4 separate regions of the Homo sapiens genome follow, and regions 2, 3 and 4 are each linked to region 1. Evidence: promoter capture Hi-C in 16 types of primary human blood cells and fetal thymus (Javierre and others, 2016). All regions are on one chromosome and are shown on one strand. The core of a region is centred on a gene start or on the middle of the fragment in contact, and the rest is flanking DNA. Distances in the headings are between cores, read along the strand shown.

Region 1 (6,534 bases), core at 2,708-5,207:
AACTATTCAATCCCGATGTTTCTCCATAATTTGGGGTCTAGACTCCAGACCATGCAGAAAAAATATGCTGCATCCTTTATATAGTTGCAGGTTGGGAAAAATCAAATTCCTACCTTGAGAGAGTGATGATATCAAAATGTGAAAGTGGAGAGCTTTTGTGTACTCAAAATGCCTCTCACATTTCCATCTAGACCCCCAGCTCAACTCCTCCAGGAGGACTTCTCTGATTTAACTGTGTCATTCAATATCTCCTGGAAACTTGAAGGTCCAGATTATATTCTATTATCCACTGCTTTGCAGTGATTCTCAATTGCTTAATCTTCCTACCTAGACTATCAATTTCTCAAGAGCAACAAAGTTTGACTTCATTCTACAAACATCCATTGCTGGCTGCCCCCAGCGTTGCCCTAGAAGTTCCCAGCAGAGGAGGTCCCACATAGGGGTGGACGATGTGTAAGCTTACAGTTATTAATAGAAACATACTCCAGGGGCAAGTCTACCCAGAATTATCAAGGGGCTGATCCATCTCACTACTCCTTATGGCCACTTGACCCTTTTACTCCATACCAGTTTCTCCATGCATCAGGCATACGGAATCCACTTAACTCAAGTACACTACTGCATATCAATCTGTCATGTTAACCAAGTCCACCAGACAAAAGCCAAGAGAGGCAGCCATCCTGCTATCTCAGGGAAAGGGGAAACAATTATCCAGTTTACCTGAGTAACTCAAAAAGTAAAACAGGGCTCAGAATGGAGATTTCAGATTTAGGGGTATTGTAATAATATGTTAATGCATCAAAAAATATTTGCCATGTTCTTATAGAAAAATATTCAAGGAAAACCACTTTGCCTTCAAAATGGTGATAATAATATTATTATATAGTAATAATTACAGTTTACAGTGTGCTTTCATGTTATTTTTGAGTTTCACATGAGCCTTATGAAACAAGATACACCGAATTATTCCCATTATATAAACAAAGAAACCAAAATTCAAAAAAGTAAAATGAAACACCCACAATAATGCAAACAGCACAGCACCAAACCTAAGCTTAAGCTCACTGTCCAGACTCTTAAGTTCAGCACCCTTTCTACAATCTCTTTGTACATTTTTTTTTTCTGAAAAGTTTGTATGGCTACTGAATTCTATGACTCCTGGGACATATTGGAAGTAGTGCACTGTAAGTAACTAGAAGAGAAAGACAATATCTCTTTAACGCGTTTCGTATTGCTCGGGTTCAGTCCTCCTAGTGTGCAGCTTGGTCAACAGTGCAATTGACGCTGATGCCCAAGCTCACAGCTGAGATTTTCAGTACCTTTGCATTGTGGTTTATTTTTCTTTACATCTCTCATCCTGATGTATTTCCTCTCTGAACCTAAATTCCTAACACCAACTGACAGAACATTTCAAAATAACAATGACCAAATCCCAAAGTCAGCCAGGTGGACTCACAGGCAGGCAAATGTTTGGGAATGGCTTCTCCAAGACAAGGGCATATCCATCAAAGAGGTGATGCAATAACTCCCTGCTCATCATGTTGTCTCCTGCATGTTTTGAATCTGCACTCAATATCCTTCTCTCCTCTGAACAAAAAGTAATTTTTGGCAAACAGCAAGCTGGAGGAGAGAATAGCATGCTCTCACATGCACTGTCCACAAACAAAAGTGAGGCTGCTCCTCAAACTACTCTTTCGGTAGCTTTTTTTTTTTTTTTCAATATGACTTCCCTTTAGGTGATAAGAGAGATGCTCCTAGGGAAAAAGTCAATCAAATATTCATAAAGATAATCATATTTCCCCAAGAAATCATATTTTCCCCCCAAATTTGATTTTTACATTAACATTTTAGAGCTAGCTCATCATACCTTACCATCTTTCTATTTTCTTTTCTTTTCTTTTTTTTTTTTTTTAGATGGAGCGGAGTTCCACTCTTGTTGCCCAGGTTGGAGTGCAATGGTGCGATCTCAGCTCACTGCAACCTCCGCCTCCCAGGTTCAAGCAATTCTCGTGCCTCAGCCTCCCAAATAGCTGGGATTACAAGCAGGCGCCACCACGCCCAGCTAATTTTGTATTTTTAGTAGAGACTGGGTTTCACCATGTTGGTTACACTGGTCTCGAGTTCCTGAGCTCAGATGATCCACCCACCCCAGCCTCCCAAAGTGCTGGGATTACACAGGCATGAGTCACTGCGCCTGGTCCATCATTCTGATTTTCATTTGGCAATGGTACCCCCTCCCCATCCCTAAAACTGACAAGCAGTTCATTAATAAATCAAAATGTACATGCATGAAACTAGCCTCATTTTAAGGGAAATCTGCTACAAATCCTTCCTACAATTTTTTTTAATGTGGATAACTTTTCTTCACCTTTTTTAAGTAGGCTACACATGCAGTGGATTGCATACGGCCACAGTACCTAGTAGACTGAGACACAATTTGAGTGCGGGGTGTGGCCCTGACATTGTTTCATACAAGCAGAGCTTTCTGGCCACAGGCAGGTTTGAAGCCCGTCTGCCCTCATTAGCATAAGGTGCTACACTAACCTTCCCCACTGTTAAATGAATCTAAAAAGTTCGCTCTCCTGTGGCTCTCTGCATTGTCACCAGGACAGGATTTAATTCAAGACTCAAATTGAGTCTTAAACTCCATTTTTTACCGGCGTCTGGGTTAAGGGATGTGACAGGCCCAAGGTTACAAAGTCATTGCCAGGGCCTCCACAGCCGCCTAGGAAATACCGCAGCCTCTGACTGCTGTTTGCATTTGCTGGTTAGGCTAGGATGTGGCATCTGGTTGACTTCAATTGGAGGAGATAGGAGCTCTTTATCCAAAAGGACACTGAAATAGGTCAGCAGTTATTACTCAAAACAGATCCAGGGTACCTTAAATCCCGAGACATAGGCAGGGTGAAATAGAAGGGTGAGTTTTGGCAAAAGTCACTTGACACAAAGCCTGGCTGGCCCGGGGAAGCTAGAAGACCTTGCCTGCCAATCAACATGAAGTGGTATAAAAAGAAGTTTCTATTTGTGTGTGTGTGTGTGTGTGTGTGTGTGTGTGTTTAATGAAAAGTATCTTAACAGACTGTTAATAATAAAGCTCTGTCTCACATATGTAAAACATCCTTACTGCTGCAGCTTCTCAGAGAAATCCTAAGAGCAGCCCAGCCGGTCTTCGGCATCAAGGCAGACACAGATGCGTTTTTGCAGCTCTGCTTCTAGTTCTCCCCAACCCCACTCCCACCCTTCCCCGCTTCCTGCCCCACCACCACTGCCCGAAAAGTCCTGTCTTGCTCTGCTGCACTTTTCCAGGTGCAGCGCCTTGGTTCCGAGGAGATGGGGGAGAGGCCTGGAGGAGCAAGTGTGGGAGGTGGGGGAGCGGCCGGGGACCACGTCCGGGAATCCTCTCCCCCAGGAGAGCCCTGAGACCCGCCAGCTGCAGGTGAGCCCCGGCGGCTGCAGGGGAGCCCGCGACAGTCCTCCCCGCGCTCCCTCGGCAGAGACGCCCCGCAGGCTCGACTGCTCCAGGCGCAACCGCCCCCGCGCGGGGGACTTGCCACGCTTTCGGTCTTTCCAGAAACGGGCGGTCTGCTCCTGTCCCGAAAATGGGGACGGGGAGAGGGGGCTGCGCGCCCCCCACCCAAGATCCCTGCACCCTTCCTTCCCGCCGCCTCTCCCGCCCGCCCCCGCCGGCCCCCGCCTCCCGCCGGACTCACCTTGGCCCGCGCCCGCGCTGGTGGCGGTGGAGTTCCCGCAGCCCATCGCGCAGCCGGCCGGGGAAGCCGCGCTCCGGAGCTCTCGGCCGCGGGTCCTGGGGGCGGAGACCCAGACGAAGGGCGGCGCACCCCGAGCGGGAGGCTGACGGGGCCGCGAGGGGCCAGGAACCGAGTGGGGGCCGCCCCCTCCCACCGCCGGGAGACGCGGCCCGGGGCGCAGCGGGCTGCGGGCTGCCGGGCGGAAACCACCCGGCACCCCTCGCCCCGGCCCCGCCCCGCCCGGGGACCCGCCGGACCCACCCGTCGCCCCAGCAACCTCGGCACTGGCCAATCCCCAGCCTCCTGCGCGCTTCGCGGTCGGCCATTGGTCGTTATTACGAGGGGCGGGAGTTTAAAGTGGGCCCCGGGGCGAGGGAGCGGCAAGGGGCGTGGCCGGCGCAGCGGGGTGGGGGTGCCCACCTGCCCACCCTCAGCATCCTCCTCGCCTTGTCTTTGCTTTTCTTTCCTCACTTCCCCTCCCTGCCCCAGGATGTGGGGAGGAGAGGAAGTAGCAGGGGGCACCCTGCACAGTGGACGCCCAATAAATGCTATTGACTGAATGTTGTGCAGGTCTGAAGCCAAAACCGAAATCCCCAGCTGCTTTAACAGAAGGCCAACGCAGCTCTGTTCCCCATACGCACTGCCTGGCAAAAGTTCTTCCCCAGATTGGTCATCTTGACCTATTCCTCTTTAAAACAAATGTCTGCAACGATTTCAATAACTTGGATTCAGGACCTCCTCTCTGATAAATGAGAGAACTGTGGATGGGCACGGTGCTGTACGTTTCAACATGATAGTTGGGCCAGCGTTACTGCAGTCAGACTGTCTGAGTTAAAGTCTTCGTTCTGCCCCGTGATAGCTGCGTGACCTCAGGAAAGTAACTTAACCCATTGGGTACATCCCTTGTTTCACCTATAAAATGACAGTAACTCAGGTACATATAAAGTACCTAACAAAGTTCCCTATCTTTAGTAAATATCAGCTATTATCATTATTATTATTAACTCTAATAGAAATGAATACAAATTCCTTAAAGGGAAAGACTATCTGATTTTTCATAGCGTCCTCCTGGCTTGTAATACAGACTCACTAAATGTTTTGTGAGGTGACTTCAAGCCAGGAATTAAAGCTCCATTTTAAATTCACTTAATATTTGTAGGGAGCCTAGCCTGTGCCAAGTCCTTTGTTAAGTTCCGGGGATACAAATATGTGGGAGACAGTCTAACCAGGCAGATAGATTAAAATAAATTAATTACAATATAGAAGGAATGTTAACAGAGGAATACAGGTGCCATAGAGTCCCAGAGGATGCTGGGATGCTAGTTAAAAGACTTGCCTAAGGCCAGGCATGGTAGCTTACACCTGTAAACTAGCACTTTGGGAGGCTGACACGGGCGGATCACGAGGTCAGGAGTTCGAGACCAGCCTAACATGGTGAAACCCTGTCTCTACTAAAAATACAAAGATTAATTGGGTGTGGTGGCATACACCTGTAATCCCAGCTACTTAAGAGGCTGAGGCAAGAGAATCACTTGAACCTGAGAGGTGGAGGTTGCAGTGGGCCGAGATAGCACCACTGCACTCAAGCCTGGGTGACAAAGCGAGATTCTGTCTCAAAAAAACAAAACAAAACAAAAAAAAAACAGACTTCCCTGAAACCATACTGTTGTGTTTACATAAAAATAAAAATATGAACCAGAATCAAGGACTTGGCAGGTTTTTGAACATGGCCTTTGAGGCAATGGTGCGTTCTATCATTCAGGATGCAAAATATACAGCATTCTCCATTTGAAAATTAGCTGTGGTAGCCATGTGCTGAGAGGATAATTAATTCTTGGATAAATAAAGGCATTTTTTAGTTGACTTCTAGAAGTACTGCTTCTCTACCAGCCTGTGCTGTCTTGGTTCAGTGTCCATCCTAATACATAGCCAGAACTGGGGAAAAGGGAACTATCAAGTAGCCGAAAGATATTCTCCTGCTTATTTCTGTGCTGACACTAGACTCCAGCCTTAGGACACTTGTAAGAGACAGAAAATGGACCTTGACACCTAGAAACTGGCCTAGAAGCTGTGACACTCAACAGCTGGGCCTTTGCATTCTCCTGTTAAACACAGTTGCATAGAACACCAATATCACACAAGGCCACTCTATAAACTATGAAATGAGACAAAAAACAAGGTGACTCGGTAATCTTGTCTAAGTGCTGACAAAAACAAGGTCATTGTGCAAACCCCCAAAACACCAAACATCTCCCCATCCTGCCTGATAGGATTGTCTGCTGCTGCTTTACCAGTTATGGTTTTAGCCCTGTTCTTGTCTTCCTGCCTAGAGATGAGGTTCATTAAGAATCTCTAATCATAGAATTGTCCCTGCTTCCTGACAATATCCAATGTAGAAAAAAAAAAAAGTTCTGCTTCCTTAAATCCCAACCAAAATCACCTATTATGAACCTAAATCCTGTAGGTTCTTTTCTAACACTCACTTACTGAGATATCTCATGGTTCCTCGTAGTGTGCATTCTGCCCTATAATGTTATAGATTATGTGATCTATCCATTATTTCAACAAGCACTATTGAGTATCACCTTAAGAGCTCCAGCCATGAGGACTTACCTGTTGGGTACAATGTACACTATTTGGGTGATGGTTACACTAAAAGCCCAGACTTCACCACCACCCAATACATCCGTGTAACAAAAATGCACTTGTACCCCCAATCTGTTTTTAAAGTGCCAGCCACTCTTCTAAATGTTTGAGAGACAGCAGTGAACAAGAGAGAGAGGAA
Region 2 (6,327 bases), core at 349-2,848, 1.3 Mb after region 1:
CAACGGTTATCATATACTATCAGCAAATATATATCATCAATATCAGTGGGTCTCAACTGGGGATGATTCTGCCCCCCAGAAGACATTTGGTAATGTCTGGTGACATTTTTAGTTGTCACAACTGGAGGGGGCTGTTACTGGCATCTAGTAGGTAGAGGCAGGGATGCTGCCAAACATCTTACAATGTACAGGGCAATACAGGGCAGCTTCCCCCAACCTCAACAAAGAATTACCTGGCCCAAAAGGTCGAGAGTGCTGCTGTTGAAAAACCCTGATCTGTATCATTTAATTCTTACAAAACGCCCTGCTGGGTGAGTATAAAAATCTCTATTTTACAACTGAAAATTGTGAGGCTTAAAAAGGTTTGGTAACTTTAGCGCTGATCCTGGGCAACCGGCAGAGCAAGATTCAAATCAGGTCTAATTTGTTCCAAAGCCAGGGATTTTACACTAAGACCAAAGTGTCAGTAACTTTTTACCTTCATATGCTGGGGCGCTGGGAGGAGGAGAGGGTGAAAAAAATAAAACTTCTCAGACTCCACTATTTTGTTAACCTTCAAATTATTCCTGTGATTAAGTTGTTTGATCAAAGAAAAGTTATCGGTCATGAAGTAGACCCAAAATTCCATCACTGTCTTTACACCAAACAGATTTCTTGTGACAGCCTGAGCATTTACAAGGGGAAAAAAAAATTAAATCCAGTTTCCTTTCTATTCCACAGAGGTCCTCAAAGATAGGGGCTCCCTGCCCAGGGGCACTTGTGATCTGCAGTGGTGCTCAAGTTATGACAGTCCTCTTTCCGAGGGCCAGTCCAGAAGGGCGTCCACACCGAGTATGCAGACACAAGGCCGCCTCACCACGTCCCCGCCGCTTTAGAGCGCGGCTCACGGAGGGGCTCTTGACCGTTACCTGCCAAACACCGGGTTGTATTTGAGGCGAGAGTGCCAGAAGGCCTCTCGTTTTCCCTCCTCACCCCCTAGATGGTCTTCCTCCTAAGGAAGGAAGGCAGGCAAAGACGGGAAAGGCCCTAAGGAACTTTGGTTTGGAGTGGGTTTTGTTTTTTGACAGAGGCGAGATTTCGGGGAGTGGCCCAGGCGGTTGGACATGGTCTTCTGTCGCCTGCGTCCGCCTGTCGGGCTGGGGTGGGGGCGTCCGGGATCCCCCGCCTGAAGGCCGGTGCGCCCCGCTCGGGGTCCGTTGCGCCCCAAGGGCCCCGGAGATCCTGAGCTGCGGTCCGGGACAGAGCTGCCGGACCCGGGCTGCCCGGCTGAGCCGCGCTCCCCGCCGCCCGCCCAAGGAAGCAGTGACCGGGCGGTGACAGCTGTCAGGGCCGCGGCCGCCGCCTCGCCTCCCCTCCCCCTCCGCAGCTCCAGCAGGCGGGGCCGACGAGCCGCCGCCGCGCCTACCCGTGTTGTAGACGTGCAGCTCATCCGCGATGCCCTCATTTCCCCCTCCAAAGATGATCATCAGCTCCCGGATGGCCACCGCTCGGTGTCCGTGCCGGGCGCGGGGGACCGGCCCCGTGAAGGAAGAAACTCGCCTCCAGTTGAGGAGGCTGGGAGCCGCCATCTTCCCAACCCCCGCCCCTCTGCCCACAATGCACCGCTCCCGCCTCAACCGGCTGCTCCCTGGGGAGGGCGGGGACCCGCCTCCAGCTGTGCTGGGGTCACGTGGCCGCGGGCGCCGGCGGCCAGGCTGGAGGCCCGCGGGCAGTGGAGAGACGCTGGGGAAGGGGGGTCCTGACAGGGGAGCCCCGCCCCCACCCCAGGCGACTTGGCCAGCGGCCACCCGGAGCAACGCACCTTAGGGTGGAAGGACGCTTCCCACTGACCACGTCTCCCATCCCCACCCAGAGCCTCCCGTTCGGTATTTTGGGAAGAAGCCACAGCATCTTCCTTTACGTCCACTTTAATTGAGCATCTAGGATGTGTGGGCGAGGCAGTCTCACAAGCAACGTGAGAGAAGCTCGGGTAGAGGTTCGAAGAGCTGGGAGCGCAGGGCGGGGACCTCGCACGGGAGGGTGCGGGCGGGAGCCTGCCTCGCGAGCCCGGGCCACGGCGGCTGCTCCCGACCGTGACTGGGACCCGGGCAGGGAAGGTCGCTACAAAGCCTGCCGGGCGAACCGAAGGCAGCTTTGTGCGGAGCCATGCCAGGAAGCTTGGGAACCGTGAGCCACAAGAGGTATTTTTGGTTTGTTTGGCTTAAGCAGAGGAGAGATGGTTTTCTAGGTTTCTGTTTCATTGCTAGCTAACAAGTGAGGGCTGTCCACAGCCTGGCATGCCCTAAGTGCCTCATGTGTATTAACTCATGTAATCCATCCAGCAATCCAGTGTGGTGGCTCCTGTTATCTCCCTTTCATGGACGGGGAAATGAGGCACAGTGCAGTAAGGTAATTTTCTGATGGACACAAAGGAGAGGTGTTGAAAAAAAAGACTGGGGCCAGGATTCCAACACAGGGCTTCTGATTCCAGAACCCCCAAGCCCTTATATCATATACCATACTGCCTCTGATAGCAGTCATATCCAACCATTATACCATACTGCCTCTGGTAGCAGTCATACGCAACTCTTTATTTTTATTTATTTATTTTAGATAGGGTCTGGCTCTGTTGCCGGAATGCAGTGGCGCGATCAGAGCTCACTGCAAGCTCGAGCTCCTGGGCTCCAGTGATCCTCCTGCCTTGGCCTCCCAAAGTGCTGGAACTACAGGCATGAGCCACCGCACCCAGCCAATGCAACACTTAATAAGGCCTAGCTGCCCTGTGATTTGGTCCTACACATAATCACACAAGTCCATTAGGAATAAAACTGCACTGCATATGGGATTCATGCCAAATGAGTAGATTTTAGCCACTCTTGCCACAGAGACACAAAAAGGGTTGGTGGTAACTATATGAGATGATGGATATGTTAATATGCTTCACTATAGTAACCTTGTGACTGCCTGTTTCAGCTGTCCCCAACCTTTTTGGCACTAGGGACCGGTTTCATGGAAGACAATTTTTCCACGGACTTGGCAGGGGAGTGGGTGGTATGGACTTGGCAAGGGGATGGGGGCTATGGTTTTGGCATGAAACTGTTCCACCTCAGATCATCAGGCATAAGATTCTCATAGGGAGTACACAATTTAGATCCCTCCTATGGGCAGTTCACAGTAGGGTTCGAGCTCCTATGAGAATCTAATGCGCGGTTGATCTGACAGGAGGCAGAGCTCAGGAAGGTCATGGGGGTTCCGAACAGGCCGAGGACTGGTTGCTGGGGACTGGGGACCCCTGGTCTATATGATATCAACTTCATATTGTATATCTTAAATATCCACAATACAAGTTATTTTTTAAAATTTTAATTGAAAAAGGACTGGGCATGGTGACTCACACCTGTAATCCCAGCACTTTTGGAGGCTGAGACAGAAGGATCCACTGATCCCAGGAGTTTGAGACCAGCTCGGTCAAGATGGTGAGATCCCATCTCTATTTTTATTAAAGAGAGATAAATAAGAGATACAAGTCCAGTGGAAGAAAAAATTGAAAGCAATTTAAATCCCTACCTCAGATTCTCAAGAGGTACTCAAAGGAGAACACAGACACTGTATAGTAAATTTCCTAAAACTCTTTTTTCCTCTTATTTTACCATTTTCAATTTCTCTTATATGCCTCATTCACCCAACTCCCTTAAACCTCAGCATGCTTCTCCACCTTCTCATCTATCTAAGCTTTTTTTGAGAGATAACTCTCTATGTTTTAAAAAGGAATTCTCAGGACGGGTGCGGTGGCTCACACCTGTAATCCCAGCACTTTGAGAGGCCGAGGAGGGCAGATTACCTGAGGTCAGGAGTTCGAGACCAGCCTGGCCAACATGGTGAAACCCATCTCTACCAAAAATACAAAAATTAGCCGGGCGTGGTGGTGCATGCCTGTAATCCCAGCTACTTGGGAGGCTGAGGTAGGAGAATCACTTGAACCTGGGAGGCAGAGGTTGCAGTGAGCCAAGATGGTGCCATTGCACTCCAGCCTGGGCAACAAGAACAAAACTCAGTCTAAAAAACAAACAAACAAACAAAAACCCCAAAAGGAATTCTCACTATTTTTTTTAGCTTCTGCTTCTTAAATTCTCCCTCTCACTGAGTATTAACCCATTTTTTTTTTTTTTTTTGAGATGGAGTTTTGCTCTTGTTGCCCAGGCTGGGGTGTAATGGCGCCGATATTGGCTCACTGCAACCTCCACCTCCTAGGTTCAAGCAATTCTCCTGCCTCAGCCTCCTGAGTAGCTGGGATTACAGGCATGCACCACCACGCCTGGCTAATTCTGTATTTTTAGTAGGGATGAGGTTTCTCCATGTTGGTCAGGCTAGTCTTGAACTCCCAACCTCAGGTGATCTGCCCACCTTGGTCTCCTAAGGTTCTGGGGTTACAGGCATGAACCACTGCGCCTGGCCAGCCCAATTTCATAATATGTCCAAAGAGAATTTGGAAAGGGAGGGAGAAATAAGATGTCTGCGAACAGAAAAGAGGTTATGAATATTTATCTATTAATATTTTTCTATGTCACATACATAACATAGGAGGCTCTTAAATGTTGCCATAATAAAGTTTTTATGGATTTGAAATAAAACTGGAAGAGTTGGAATAAAGCAGTGAGTTTTTCATAAAACCCAAAGTGTTTAATTTAAAGAACTGTACTTTGTTCTGAGAGTTTTGTGCCTAGATGGTAGTTTTTTTCTAATGCCCTTATAGCACAAGGTTAAAGGAAAAAATCAAACGTTCCAACCCTAATGTTGAACTTCAAATTTAAAAAAACTAGTCTATGATATTTGAAAGCCCAAGTACCCTTGAACTAGGAGAAAAATTAAGGCAAAATATTTTTAAGACAAAAGAGATTGCAAGCTATAACTGGTGGCTTAGATAGGGAGCTGCAGGGTGATGAGGAAATGTGTACTAGTTTCCTAGGGCTGCTGTGAAACAATAGGAATGTTTTGTTTCACAGTTCTGAAGGATATATAAGTCTGAAATCAAAGTGTCAGTAGGGCTGTGATCCCTGCAAAACCTGTAGGAAAGAATGCTTCCATGCCTCTTTCTAGCTTCTGGTGGCAGCTGTCAATCCATGGCAGCCCTTGACTTGTCAATGAATCACTCCAGTCTCTGACTCCATCACATCATCACGTGGTGTTCTCCCTGTGTGTCTGTCTCTTCTTTTTTTTTTTTCTTTTTGAGACAAGGTCTGGCTCTGTCATCCAGGTTGGAGTGCAATGGTGCGATCTCAGCTTGCTGCAGCCTCCACCTCCCAGGCTTAAGTGATCCTCCCACCTCAGCTTTTGGAGTAGCTGAGATTATAGGTGTGCACTACCATGCCTGGCTAGTTTTTAAATTTTTTCTAGAGATGAGGTTTTACCATGTTTCCCATGCTGGTCTTGAACTCCTGAGCTCAAGCAATCCTCCTGCATCAGCCTCCCAAAGTGCTGGGATTACAGATGTGAGCCACTGCGCCCAGCCTCTTCTCCTCTTATTATAAATTCACTAGTTATATTGGATTAGGGCTCATCCTGTGATCTCATCTTAACTTGATTATATCAGCAAGGATCCCATATCCAAATAAAGTCATATTCATAGGTACAGCGGGTTAAGGCTTCAGCATGTCTTTTGGGGGAGATACAATTCAATCTATGACAAAGTACATAATCCAATGGGAAAGATGTTTTAGTAGAGCAGTTTTGAGTAATCTGTCCTTGAGGGAGGCATCTAAAATAGGTCCCCATTTCACAGTAAAGTACCTTCAATCTCTGAAACTTCAAGAATGTAGTTTGGAAACAACAACCTAGGAGGAGAGTTTGGAGAAGAGGGATGGAAAATAGCACCCTGAAGAAGCCAGCATTGATGGGGTAAAGACAAGAGGAGGCACTCATGAAGGAAATAGAGAATAGGTAGCCAGAGAAGTTAAAAGGGAACTGGGTGAGGGTGATGTCAAAGAAGCCACAGGCAAAGAGGGTTTCATAGAGGCAGAAGTGGTAAGGAAAGCCAAAAGCCACAGAGAGGTCAGGGAAGAAGAGGACGAAGAAGCAACTGTTGGATTTGCAAATTAGGAGGTTAGTAGTGGCCTAGAATTAAAATGTTTTCAATGGAGTGGGAGGGAAAGAAGCCAGAGAGAACTGAAGCATGAGTTAGAAAATGCGGATAACATGTGTAGTCTATTCTTTACAGAGACTTGGCCATGTAAGGAAAGAAAGAACAATGGCTGGCAAGGAGAGAGAGGTACTGTGTAAATTGTTATTATTTTGGATGGTGAGACTTGTGGGCCCAGAAGAAGGATCCAGTTGCAAACAAAAGGTCGGAAG
Region 3 (6,889 bases), core at 4,162-6,661, 1.0 Mb after region 1:
GGTGCCTGTCATCTCTCCTAATATTGCCCTGAAGAAATTATTTAAGCCCTGAGTTGTCAGTTTTAGTCTTATCTCCCAGGATTACCTCAAACTACTAAAGTCTTAACTATGTCTGACACTTGGTATTATTCCAGTAAATACTTTTTCACTCACTCTGCTTCTCCTCTCAGTACCACCAATAGGCCTCTCTACAAGTGATTTCAAAACCCTGGAATCCTGAGGGAGATGCTGATTTACATACAAAAGAGGTTCCCTATAAGAATACTGGAACTTTGCTTTAAAAACCAAGATGTTTATGAAAGCCACATCTTTGAGCAGTAGGAACTCTATTCATAGTTCTTAACCATCTTGGAGGTCCCTAGTTCCAACTTTATACATGGACATACAAAAGCCCTGGCTGCAAACAGCTTGGTTCCCTATTTTTCTATTCATTGTTAAAGTGTTCAACAAAAAGTGTTCCTCCCCCATTGGGTTCCTATTTGCTGTTTTCTAACAAATATGTTTTGGGTATTAAAGACTAGTCCTTTGTTTTCCGCAATTCTAATTATCTCATCAAATGATCTTGATCAAACTACCCTATGTACAATAATATTAAAGCGTCTCAAACTTGACATTTATCCTAAAAATTATTGGAGGGAGCTTATTTAAAACAAAACAAAAACAATAAGGCAAGCCGGGCGTGGTGGCTCACACTGTAATCCCAGCACTTTGGGAGGCCGAGGTGGGTGGATCACCTGTGGTCAGGAGATCGAGACCAGCCCGACCAACATGGCAAAACCACATCTCTACTAAAAAAATACAAAATTAGCCAGGCATGGTGGTGCATGCCTATAATCCCAGCTACTTGAGAGGCTGAGGCAGGAGAACCACACCACTTGAACCCAGGAGGTGGAGGTTGCAGTGAGCTGAGTTCATGCCACTGCACTCCAGCCCAGGCAACAAGAGCAGAACTCCATCTCAAAAAAAAAAGGCGGGGGGGCGGGGGTAGATTCCTAGCTCTTTCCCGAGTCTACTTCAAAAGAACTCGGGTAAAGCCTGGGCATGCATAATTAACGAGTACTCCAGGGGATTCTGAGCAGGTGGTCTGGAGACTACACTTTTTTGGAACACTCTTCTGCAAAGCTTTCATCCTTTATCAAGGGAGTCACCTAGGCTCACCAACTTCTTCCAGCAGGATTCTTTCTCCCTTGTCTTCTATAGTACACTCACTGTGAAAGCAGGGTAGGTTTTGCTGCTGTTGTTTATTCAGGGAAAAGGGGATGAGGAAGAAACAATATTAAAAGGAGAAAGGAAAAGTGGACATTTTGAAGAGCTCCCTCCATTATTTATGTTGCAATTAAAGTATGAAATCTTAACCTTCTTTTTAAAGGTGTGGCCTTTAGGACTATAAGCACTCAATTCTCCACTAAATAAATGCCTTTCTCCACTGAAACCCAAAGCTCCCTTAAGGGTTTCAAAACCTACCATTTAGCCCCAAATGTGGGCAATAATTGGCTGAAAAGTTCACAGATCTTTCAAACCAATAGTCCTTACCTTGCTGTTTCTCCTTTCATTTTTTAGCACTCATTAAAAAACAAAAATAGGGCTGGGCCCGGTGGCTCACGCCCATAATCCCAGCACTTTGGAAGGCCGAAGTGGGTGGATCACGGCGTCAAAAGTTCAAGACCAGCCTGGCCAAGATGGTGAAACCTTGTCTCTACTAAAAATACAAAAATTAGCTAGGCACGGTGGCAGGCGCCTGTAATCCCAGCTACTCGGGAGGCTGAGGCAGGAGAATCACTTGAACCCGAGGGGCAGAGGTTGCAGTGAGCCAAGATCGCGCCACTGAACTCCAGCCTGGGCAACAGAGTGAGACTCCTTCTCAAAAAAAAAAAAAAAAAAAAAGCTGGGTGCGGTGGGTCACACTTGTAATCCCAGCGCTTTGGACTACAAGGTCAGGAGTTCGAGACCAGCCTGACCAACATGGTGAAACCCCATCTCTACTAAAAATACAAAAATTAGCAGGGTGTGGTGGCGTGTGCCTGTAATCCCAGCTACTCGGGAGGCTGAGGCAGGAAAATCGCTTGAACCTGGGAGGTAGAGGTTGCGGTAAGCCAAGATCATGCCACTGCACTCCAGCCTGAGCAACAGAGCGAGACTTTGTCTCAAAAAAAAAAAAAAAAAAAAAAGACACAAAGTAGAATAAGTTTACTTAAGAAATATGCTAAATGATTTCTTTTAAGTGTTCTTGATGGTATGCTTTTCATTCATGGCACTATACCTCACTAAATGTCGTGACCTGCAGTCCCAGCACTTTAGGAGGCCGAGGCCGGATGATCGCTTGAGCCCAGGAGTTCAAGACCAGCCTGGACAACATAATGAGACCTCCATCTCTAAAGAAAAAAAAGTTTTCAATTAAAAAAAAAGAAAAAACATCAGAACATCAGACCAAATCAATTAAGTGAGTTCCAAAGCTTATAAAAAGAGTGACTCTTTTTACTCCCATTGCCATTAAAACCAGGAGTATCAGTAGAATTACATAAAGATCAAATTACTATATAACTTTGTAAATGTAAACTTATGGCACAGGTGAAAATAATAGAATAATCAGACAGGAAGAAATATACATATATATATATATATATATATATATATATATATATATGTATATTTCTTTTTTTTTTTTTTTGAGACAGGGTCTCACTGTCACCTAGGCCAGGGTGCAGTGGCGCAATCTCAGCTCATTGCAACCTCCACCTCCAGGTTCAAGTTGATTCCCCAGCCTCAGCCTCAGTCCCAGAGTAGCTGGGACCAGAGGCATGTGCCACCAAGCCCTGGCTAATTTTTTTATTTCTAGTAGAGACGGGGTTTCACCGTGTTGCCCAGGCTGATCTGGAACTCCTGAGCTCAAAGCAATCCGCCTGCCTCGGCCTCCCAAGGTGCTGGGATTACAAGTGTGAGCCACCGCACCCGGCCAGGAAGGAATATTAATATAATAGACCGTTATCTCTTTTTACCTGCAAACTAAAGGTCTGAGTAACACAATATATTTTAACTAAAGCTAAAAGCCTCTGTATTTCCATTAATTTTCCATTAATTTGCTGTTTGAAGTCTAGATCCATTCCCTATAACCATTTGTCAAAAATAAATAAAATACTTTTAAAAGAAAAGGTAATAAATAAAAATTCAAATTATTAGTATTTTTCCTAAGGCTGCAACACATCTAAATATATTTTTACATTTAACGCAGGCGTTAGGTTTACTTCTAAGAAGGCAATGTTTTCATTTCTTAAAAATTACAGAGATATAAATGGATAAGGACAAAAATCACATGGATCGTGGTGATGGGACTACGGGAAGTTTTCTAACCTGGTAATCTACCACAGGTGAGATAGAACATCACCCAGGTGTCCTGTTCCCTTAAACATGCACCCAGCCGTGGATCATCTGAGGTCAGGAGTTTGAGACCAGCCTGGCCAGCATGGTGAAGCTGGGTGTAGTGGCGGGCACCTGTAATCTCAGCTACTCGGGAGGCTGAGGCAGGAGAATTGCTTGAACCCAGGAGGTGGAGGTTGCAGTGATACAAGATCACGCCACTGCACTCCAGTGCACTCTGGGTGACAGAGCAAGACTGTTTTTTTTTTTTAAATACATAAATAAAACATACATACACCCAGCCTCCAAGCATTTTTCTAACACTGTAGGCTATAAATCCCTCAGTGGCTATAACTCCTCAGTAGCATAGGTCTAAGGAAGGATTTCTACTGCGTTTGCTACCAGCCAAAGGGAAGACTTCTTCCTTTCCCTTCACCCAACTATTAACTCTGGGCTAAAAAGACACACCTGAAGGAAAACGAAGTCACCCCAAGAGCTTCCTGGTTGCTCTCCTCCAGACCCTGGGGTTTCCGGGTCCCCTACCCCTGAGAGAATTAAGAGGAAGATTACAGGGCCACCTTGATGACAAAGATAAGCATTTCCTGATCCCCTTTTCTCAGGACTTCCCTAAACAACTAACATTTAGCAGATTACATTGCTGCTAAAAAATGTTATTTACAACTGGGAGGGAAAGAGGAAGGGGAAATAGGAGAAAAAGGACATTTTTAAAAAGCTATTTTAAAAGATAAAAAGCGTTAGAAATTTCAAGTTTCCCGAGATGTGAAATTTGTCCAACGTCTCATCAACTTCGATTAACACATGCGCTAGCCCACGAGCGTTTTTCGTCATTTCCCAGCGCTGCGTCCCGTTTGGAGGGTCACATCCACGCTGGCTTTAAAAGGCAGGCTGTGACCACGCTGAGCTCAACGAGCTCATCCCCCGTTTAAAAAGATACGTTACTCTCTCCTACCTTCAAGGTTGGACCATGGCCGCCTATCTTTCTCTGTTTCACAAACACAACGGGCAGATCGGTTTCCGCGGCCAATTCCGAGAGCGTTCCTTCCAGGGCCCGACCGTCCTCTGTGTGGCACAAAAGCAGAGCGGAGCGTGTAAGGTGCTTCTCCCCCGCTAACAGGCGGGAACTGCGCCGGGGGCGGGGCTTCCGTCCCGGCCCCGCAGGCACCGCGTGCCCTCTGTTGACTCCCTTGCAAGTTAGCATGACTTGCTGCATTTCTGACAAAGGCTAGAACTCACAATCAAGCTTGGAGTCTGACCCCGGCAAATCCGCACACTGGCTGAAAACATGGCCTCAAGGCTAGCTGTAAACGTCAGAGTTCTAGTCAGGGTTAAATCATTGCACTACTCCGCTAAAATTAAACGTCCTACTTTCCCGGTAAATCCCGAATTCAGAAAAGCTTCAAAAAAGAAGCTTAATACACGTTTATCTCAACTTTCACAAAACACCTCCCAGTTTGATCTTGCTTTCAACTCTGCATCTATACTGAATGCCAAAATCCAACTTCCAACGTTTCCTTGACATTTGAAACCGTGGAGCAAAATTAAGAACACTCTGCCTACCTGGTGCATTCTTAAAAAGAATCCTGAAGCAATACACAACGCTACAGATGAAACTAGGCACTAATGGTAAAATTTCACAAAGGGGTGAACTCAGTGGAACATACAGATTCCACAGTTACACTGACATGAGGCCTATTCATTAGACATAAATCACGCCAACATTCAAAAGTATAGCTGCTTATTTGGGAGGCCGAGGCGGGTGGATCATGAGGTCAGGAGTTCAAGACCAGCCTGGCCAAGATGGTGAAACCCTGTCTCTACTAAAAATACAAAAATTAGTCGGGCGCGGTGGCAGGTGCCTGTAATCCCAGCTACTCAGGAGGCTGAGGCAGGAGAATCGCTTGAACCCAGGGGGCGAAGGTTGCAGTGAGCCCAGATCGTGCCACTGCACTCCAGCCTGGGCGACAGAATGAGACTCCGTCTCAAAAAACAAACAAACAAAAAAAACCAACAAAAAACAAAAAACAAAGTATAGCTGCTTAATTGTAATAATAGTAGCTAACATGTCTATACTGCTTCACATATATTTACATTTCAACTTCACAACCACTCTACAAGTAAGTATTACCAGGCCCAACTTACAGACAGGGAAACAGGTACAGAAAAGCTAAGAAACTTGTCCAAGCTCAAGGAGCTACTCAAAAGCAGCGGCAGGATTCAAACCCAGGCAATGTGGTCGACGCGTTTAATCACTGTCCTGTACTGCCTGAGAGAGTGAGGAAGCCCTGGGGTCGTCGTCGCCGCCCCATTTAATAGTCTGTGTCCAGCTGGGCACGCCACTTGATCTTTCTGAGCCTTGCTTTCCCTACTTGTAAAAACATGGAGACCCCATGTGTTTTGCCAACGTCTCAGGATTTCTGAGGATTAAATGGTGTGAAAATTCCTAGAGAAGCATTCTTACATAGTTATACTTTCTTAATATTCTCAAGGATCTGTCAGTCCACTCAACACATTGTCATCTACATTTCAAGACTCGGACTCTGTAAGAAACGATACAATACCCATTTTCTCCGCTGTTCTGCAAACTGTCTCTACAAAGACCAAGAGGAAGGAAACCGCCAGCCTACAGGCGCCGGCCTCACCTACCACATGACATGCTGAAGCTTTGTGTGACCGGGTCGAAACCGCACACGCCACGAAGCTGCCTGGGTTTGGAAAAGCCTCCCCGTCTGCTCAGACACGCCTTAAAATATCTTCCCTTCCCCGAGACGCACACTGCTGCACCCAGGCGCAATGCTGTCGTCCCCGCCGGCAGGCCGTCCCCCGCGTGCTCCCATCCCTGGGCTCGCGGCTTTGTCTGGTTTCACCCGACGCAGAGCTTACAAGAATTTGAGAATGATGAAGACATCAGGCCCTCCTTCAGGACTCGACCACCTTTCGCTCTGCTGCAAATGCCGGAGTGAAGAAAACTGAGGTGAAAGGGTTGCTGTTTCCTAATGGCTACGAGAAGCCACGCCCTGCGCCGAGCGGGCGGGCTAACTGCCAGAGTCAGAATGACAAAGCAGAAATCCACTCCTCGTGCAGCCCTGGCAACCTATGCTAATTGCCTCGTAAGCTGAGAGCTCCTAATTGGGTGACACCACATCCTCTGCCTGCTCATAGCCGCCCCCAACCTAAGAACAGAGCAAAAACAATTTAAGGCAATTCTGGAACCAAATTTGGAATAAGTGTGTTTTTACTGAAGAAATTAGACTATGCCCTAAGGCAGTAGCTACAGAACTTTGCTAGCTGTTGTCATCACGTGAGGGTCTTTAGAATCCTGGTGCCTGGCTCCCACCCCTAGACATTCTGATGTCATTGGTGTGGAGTGTGACCTGGGCCTCTGCGTTTAAAAAAAAAAAAAAAACTCCAAAGGTGATTGAGTTGGCAGCAAAGTTTGGGACCCACTGCCTTAAGGTCATGGATTAGTCAGTTTGGCAGTTCCCTAAAGGAAGTTATTAGGCTTTTGAAAAGAAAT
Region 4 (6,399 bases), core at 142-2,641, 1.1 Mb after region 1:
CAAAATTAGTCGGGCGTTGTGGTGCATGCCTGTAATCCCAGCTACTTGGGAGGCTGAGGCAGGAGAATCGCTTGAACCCAGGAGATGGAGTTTGCAGTGAGCCAAGATCATGCCAATGCACTCCAGCCTGGGCAACAAGAGTGAAACTCCGTCTCAAAATAAAATAAAATAAAATAAAAATCCAAACAAACGAAAAACCCAACAGGTAGATTTGTTGCTGTTTTTCTGAGACAGGGTCTCCCTCTGTTACCCAGGCTGGAGTGCAGTAGCCTGATCATGGCTCACTGCAGCCTCGACCTCCCACGCTCATGCGATCCTCCCACCTTAACCTCCTGAGCAGGTGTGACTAACAGGCGCACGCCACCATGCCCAGCTATTTGTTTTTGCAGAGACTGAGGCTCACTTTGTTGCCCAGGCTGGTCTTGAACTCCTGGTGTCAAGCAATCCTCCCAGCTGGGCCTCCCAAAGTGCCAGGAATACAGGCATGAGCCACCACAACCAGCCAGATAGTTTGTTTTTAACATCAAAGAGTGATTTGTGATAGTCATTTATAGTTATATACATGTAGACTAGTTTCTACCAGCAAAGTAATGCTCAGAGCTAGAAAGTAGGATATAAGGAATATTCATGAAATATTCCCTGATGTTTTATGAAGGTAAAGAAAAGGCATTAACAGATTAATTCCTTCTTTTGAGTTCTTTCAAGGATTTAATCCAACTGTAAATCTAAAATACCGCCTCCCCCCCACCGTTTTTTTTTTTTTGGAGACGGAGTTTCGTTCTCATCACCCAGGCTGGAGTGCAATGGCACGACCTCAGCTCACTGCAACCTCTGCCTCCTGGATTAAAGCAATTCTCCTGCCTCAGCCTCCTGAGTAGCTGGGATTACAGGTGTGTGCTACCACGCCCAGCTAATTTTGTATTTTTTTAGTAGAGATGGGGTTTCACCATGTTGGCCAGACTGGTCTCGAACTCCTGACCTCAGATGATCCACCCGCCTTGGCCTCCCAAAGTGCTGGGATTACAGGCATGATCTACCGCACCTGGCCTAAAATACACTTTTTAAAAAAGCTAATTTAAAAGCTTTAAATACTCAGTACACATTAATACAAAGAGTAAACATTCAAATGTGAAAATCCAAATAATGAGTAATGACTTTAAATTACCTGGTTAAAATCAACAAAAAGCAAGATTACTCTACAATTATCTAGCGCATCGTGTAATACTAACTTCTGATTGCAGATTGCATGACTGCATGTCAGTCACGATCTTTGGTTCCATTCCAAAGCTTTCAATTTCCTCTTGGGGCATCTGACTCACCCTTATCAGCCTCAGTGATCTGCAGTAGCAACCTCCACCCCAGCCTCAGCCCCATTGCTAAGGATAGGCACCTCTGCCCAGAAATAGGTGATTTGACGCTGGCCTAAACACCTCACTGCAGTGTTCTCAGGCCTTGGTTCAAATAGAATCACTTGAGACACCAAAAATGAAGCTTCCTTCACTCTGAGGCTGATTTAGTAGGTCTGAAATGGAGAACAGGAAAATGAGTTTTTAATCTACACATTCCCAGCATGTAATTAATTCTCTTGCAGGTGGTCTTAGGACCGCACTTTGAAAAAATACTGTCTCCTCTCCTTACTAGAAGAAGCTGGTCAATGTTAATAGCATTGGCTTTTGGAACATTCCTCACTTATTAAAAAAAAAAAAATTGCCTTTTGCCATATGAGTCATATAAACACATTTACTGATTTGTAGGGCAGTATGCCAAGGACTGTAGGAGATAAGATAGTGAACAAAACACATTCCTGATCCTCAAAAATCCAGCAGGAAAAATGTTTGCAAGCTCATTAAAATAGAATGGAATGTGTGTTACAGAAGAAATACTAAATGCTAAGTGCCAAGATGTTAACTCCCTCTGCCATTCTCCTGAAGTGGTGTGTACCCATCTACTTTTATGATTACACATCATGACACTGCATTTTCTACGCCATTCTTCTCCACGAGACTCTATGTTCAAGGACTGAGATCATGCCTTGTTTATCCCTGAGTTCCCAGTGCCTGATAAATAATAGATGCTCGGTTGAAGAGTCATTCAAGCAAAACCTTCTGCATCATTAAGAAATTAGTTTCTTGAAACTTAACCACATAATTTTAATTTGAGAAGGAACTTAGAGATCATATGGTACTTAAGGAAGGTGGCTTCTAGAGTGTTTGTAGGTGACACACAAAAGAACATTTTTAATGTCAATAGTTATGTATAATATGGGCCTGGTGCAGTATACTTTGGGAGGCTGAGGCAGGAGGATCACTTGAGGCCAGGTGTTCGAGATCAGATGGGGCTGTTGCTTAGTGAGACCTATCTCTACAAAAAATTTAAAATTGAGGCTAGGCATGGTGGTGTGTCCCTGTAATCCTAGCTACTCAGGAAGCTGAGGCAGGAGGATTACTTGAGCCCAGCAGTTCAGTTTCAGTGAGCTATGATTCATGCCACTGCACTCTAATCTAGGCAACAGAGTGAGACCCATCTCTAGAAAAATAATAATCATCATTATGTATATATGTATGTGTATAGAAAAATATCTAGGCTGGGTACAGTGGCTCACACCTGTAATCCCAGCACTCTGGGAGGCCAAGGTGGGAAGATCACTTGAGCCCAGAAGTTTGAGACCAGCCTGGGCAACATGGCAAGACCTCATCTCTACAAAATGTAAAAAAATTAGCTGGGCTTGGTGGCACACTTTACCACACAGGAGGCTGAGGTGGGAGGATTGTTTAAGACCAGGCGGTTGAGGCTGCAATGAGCTATGATTGGGCCACTGCACTCCAGCCTGGGCAACAGAGCAAGACCCTATTTCAAAAAAAAAAAGAAAGAAAAGAAAAAGAAAAATACCTAGTATAAAGCCGTGCTTTAATAGATTAATGCTTAAAATATGCCTAAATTTAAGTTTCAAAAAGTAAATGTAAATAGGTGAAATTCTTCTATGCTGTTAGAAATCAGAGTAGTGTTTGCCCTTGGTATGGGGGTAAGAGACATTAGAGGGGCTCCTGGGGTACTGGAAACGTTTATTTCCTCAGCTGAGTGTGGGCTGCATGCATATACTTCGTTTGTAAAAATTTAGCAAGTTGTATTATAACGAGTGAGCTTTTCTGTATTATAAAATAGTTCAGGCCGGGCGTGGTGGCTCAAGCCTGTAATCCCAGCACTTTGGGAGGCTGAGGCGGGAAGATCACGAGGTCAAGAGTTCAAGACCAGCCTGGCCAACATGGTGAAACCCCGTCACTACTAAAAATACAAAGATTAGCTGGGCATGGTGGCGGGCCTGTAATCCCAGCTATTTGGGAGACTGAGGGAGGAGAATTGCTTGAACCCAGGAGGCGGAGATTGTGGTGAGCCAAGATCATGCCACGGCACTCCAGCCTGGCGATAGAGCAAGACTCCATCTCGGGAAAAAAAAAATGTGGTGTGTGTGTGTATATATATTCCATTTTGTGTGTGTGTGTGTGTATATATGTGTGTGTGTATGTACATATACACACACACAATGGAATATTATTCAGCCTTAAAAAGTAAGGAAATCCTGTCGCATGCTACAATACAGATGAAACTCGAAGACAAGTATGCTAAGTGAAACAAGCCAGTCACAAAAAGACAGACACTGTATGATACCAACTTATATAAGCAATCTAAAGTAGCCAAATTTCACAGAAACAGAAAGTAGAATGATGGATACCAGGGGCTGGGGGAAACGGCAAATGAAAAGTTAACGAGTTGGCATGGAGTTTCAGATTTGCAAGATGAAAAAGTTCAGGGGATCTGCTTCACAACAATGTGAATATACTTAATACTGCTGAAAACTGTATACTTAAAAACGGTTAGGGTCAGCTGGGTGCAGTGGCTCATGCCTGTAATCCCAGCACTTTGGGGAGCTGAGGTGGGCAGATCACCTGAGGTCAGGAGTTCAAGACCAGCCTGACCAACATGGTGAAAACCTGTCTCTATTAAAAATACAAAATTAGCCAGGCGTGGTGGTGCATGCCTGTAATCCCAGCTACTTGGGAGGCTGAGGCAGGAGAATCGCTTCAACCTGGGAGGTGGAGGCTGAGGTGAGCCAAGATGGCGCCATTGCACCCCAGCCTGGGCAACGAGAGCGAAACTAAAAAAAAAAAAAAAACAAAATTGTTAAGATGGTAAATTTTTTTTTTTTAACCACACACAAAAAGAATGTAGCTAAAGAAAAACAGTAAATAAATGGAAGGACATAGATATCAAGAAGATCCTGAGGATGGCACATGAAACGTCAATTTGGGATGCACCTGCTCAAACTCCTTCATTGTACTAATGGCCACAAATTAGCTGCCTGACCTGGACCTTGCCTGACCTTGCTCCTACCCTGTTCCTTTATTCTTCCCTTCCCCTAATCCAAGTCCTTAACTCCAGCAGGATATACAGGCCTCCCTATCTCTAGCATGGTCTCACCGGCTGCTTCCCCTAACAAGAATGTTCTCCCTTCAGACACCTCTACCAAATCCTACCTCATCTATGGGAGCTGCCATCCCCACTTGGCTGTTTTTACCACTCCTTTTAGCCCTTCACCATATGCTGCCTTGTAACTAAACTGTAAGCCTTTGAAAGAGGCAGATCCTACAGCATTTAATAATTCTAGCCATTGGGCAAGGCACTTTTTGGAGCCTCACTTTCTCAAGCCTATAAAAAAGGTGGAGGCGGCCATATGACTATGACCAGGGCTTTTGAGTCAGATGGCCTCAACTGGTATCCCAGCTCTTCCACTTACTAGTTGTGTGCTTTGGGTAAGTTTTATAACCTCTTTGCTTCTCAGTTTCTTCATCTGTATAATGGGGTTTATGATAAATCTCTCAGTATGGCTGGAAACATGAACCAAGATTATTACCCATGTCTAGTGCTTCCAAAGGCCCCTCTCATGTCAGTGCTTAGTAACCACTAGCCATTATTGGCATTATCCGGACAATGGAGAAGAGACTGGGAGCTTTCTCTTCTGGAAGAACAAGTGAAAGGATAAAGCGGGATGATGGTGGGAGAAATGTGCCCAAAATTCAAGGGGATGGAGAAAGGGGGCCGGGAAGGCGTGTCGGACAAGATTCTCGATGGAGGAGGATGCTGGGAGTGGGCCGGGGGCTTCTGGAGAGGTGAAGGGGCACCCCCGGACTCGGCTGTCGGTTTGGTCGCTTCCCCCGTAACCTTTCATTGGAAACACGGTGCTTGTAGGAAGAGGACGCCCTAACGGGCCCTGAGCGAAATCAGGCGGGTCGCTGCCGAGATCTCGGTTCGGTTTCCGACAGGTTTCCGGGCAGGTCCTCGCGGCGGGCCCGCTCCTCCTTCCACCTCCCACCTCTCTCACAGCCAGCGGGCGGGGCAGCCCTCGGCCGGCCGCCGGCCTCCGTCTCCCGGGGTGACCTGGGGGAGCGTTTCTGGGGTCTCCAGCGTGGCGCGCGGTCAGTCACTGACTCCAGTGAGGGGCTTCAAGGCCAGGGCTCCGGGGCACTTTATCCCCAACCCCGGCCGGAAGGCCCGCTTCGGCCCGTCGACCTGGGGACCAGGCCTTCGCCCTCGGTCGTACCTGACCTACGGCGGCCATCGCCGTTCTTGCCTTTCGTCTGCAGCTCCGTTGGGGCGGCCGCCGCCACTGCCTTGCCCTCGGCGCAGCCCATGTCGCACAAGGCCCTGTGGGAACTGACGGAGCCGAAGGACGCCTGGCGGAGGCCGCGAGCCCCCTGCCGGCCGCGGGTCGGAGAACGCGGTGGGCGGGGCGCTCGGTGACAACAGCGAAGTCATAGCCCGTGTATCTTCTTCAAGGTCGTGAATTTTTTTTTTTTAACAGGAAAGAACGGTCGCTAAAGGTAAATTGGAAAATGCAGAAATGGAAAGGAGAAAAGAGCGCACCACCCAAAATCCTTATCCTTCGGCTGGGCGCGGTGGCTTACACCTGTGCACTTTGGGAGGCCGAGGTGGGAGGATTGATCGCTTGAGCCCAGGAGTTTGAGACCATCCTGGGCAATGTAGAGAAACCCTGTTTCTACAAAAAATAATTTTAAAAAATTTATCCTTCACACAAACTACTTTTGCTGTGTTTACTATTTCTTTCCAGTTTTTCCCCTCTATGCATAGTTTTGCATCCAGCATTTCACTTAATACTAGTATTTTCCATACTATCACATAGTCTTGTAAGCCTCCCAGATAACCACCTGGCTTCCACTGTCACTTCAGTCTTTGCCTCTTTGACCGTAGATGAAGCATACACTGAACATCGTAGTTTCTTTTTAATACACTTTATTTTTTAGAGCAGTCTTTTTTTTTTTTTTTTTTTGAGACGGAGTCTCACTCTGTCACCCAGGCTGGAGTGCAGTGGCGCGATCTCAGCCC

The links. Contacts are between HindIII fragments. The CHiCAGO score rates a contact against its expected background, and 5 or more counts as called.
Region 2: the fragment with the promoter of HCFC2 here is called in contact with the fragment with the promoter of C12orf75 in region 1 in 11 of 17 cell types (fetal thymus, non-activated CD4 T cells, total B cells and 8 more); the score reaches 18.9 in fetal thymus.
Region 3: a contact is called between a fragment that was not itself captured here and the fragment with the promoter of C12orf75 in region 1, in 1 of 17 cell types (total B cells). The highest score is 5.5, in total B cells.
Region 4: a contact is called between a fragment that was not itself captured here and the fragment with the promoter of C12orf75 in region 1, in 1 of 17 cell types (total B cells). The highest score is 5.5, in total B cells.

Annotation. Positions count from the first base shown.
Region 1 is chr12:105,328,114-105,334,647 of GRCh38, reverse strand. C12orf75 (chromosome 12 open reading frame 75) reads right to left here and starts at 3,957. Exons shown (of 6, transcript NM_001145199.2): 1 at 3,711-3,957. The coding sequence starts at 3,756. RefSeq lists an enhancer at 2,332-2,875 and silencers at 3,532-3,631, 3,662-4,321. The HindIII fragment of the contact is 8,522 bases long and covers 1,057-6,534 here.
Region 2 is chr12:104,059,802-104,066,128 of GRCh38, reverse strand. It overlaps HCFC2 (host cell factor C2), which reads right to left and starts at 1,598. Exons shown (of 15, transcript NM_013320.3): 1 at 1,406-1,598. The coding sequence starts at 1,568. It also overlaps a transcript of GLT8D2 not described here. RefSeq lists silencers at 1,222-1,361, 1,582-1,751, 1,733-1,902, 1,912-2,071, a cis regulatory region at 3,479 and an enhancer at 3,395-3,564. The HindIII fragment of the contact is 6,452 bases long and covers 1-2,158 here.
Region 3 is chr12:104,286,476-104,293,364 of GRCh38, reverse strand. TXNRD1 (thioredoxin reductase 1) reads right to left here. Exons shown (of 17, transcript NM_001093771.3): 4 at 4,325-4,434. Among named protein-coding and RNA genes, the nearest start is that of TXNRD1-AS1, 9.1 kb to the right of the region's middle. RefSeq lists a silencer at 4,457-4,586 and enhancers at 4,453-4,998, 4,999-5,546, 5,884-5,953, 5,547-6,092, 6,064-6,443 and 3 more. The HindIII fragment of the contact is 1,252 bases long and covers 4,786-6,037 here.
Region 4 is chr12:104,215,091-104,221,489 of GRCh38, reverse strand. TXNRD1 (thioredoxin reductase 1) reads right to left here and starts at 5,711. Exons shown (of 17, transcript NM_001093771.3): 1 at 5,597-5,711. The coding sequence starts at 5,687. RefSeq lists a cis regulatory region at 1,967-1,977, enhancers at 1,900-2,044, 4,703-5,318, 5,319-5,935 and a silencer at 5,759-5,848. The HindIII fragment of the contact is 204 bases long and covers 1,290-1,493 here.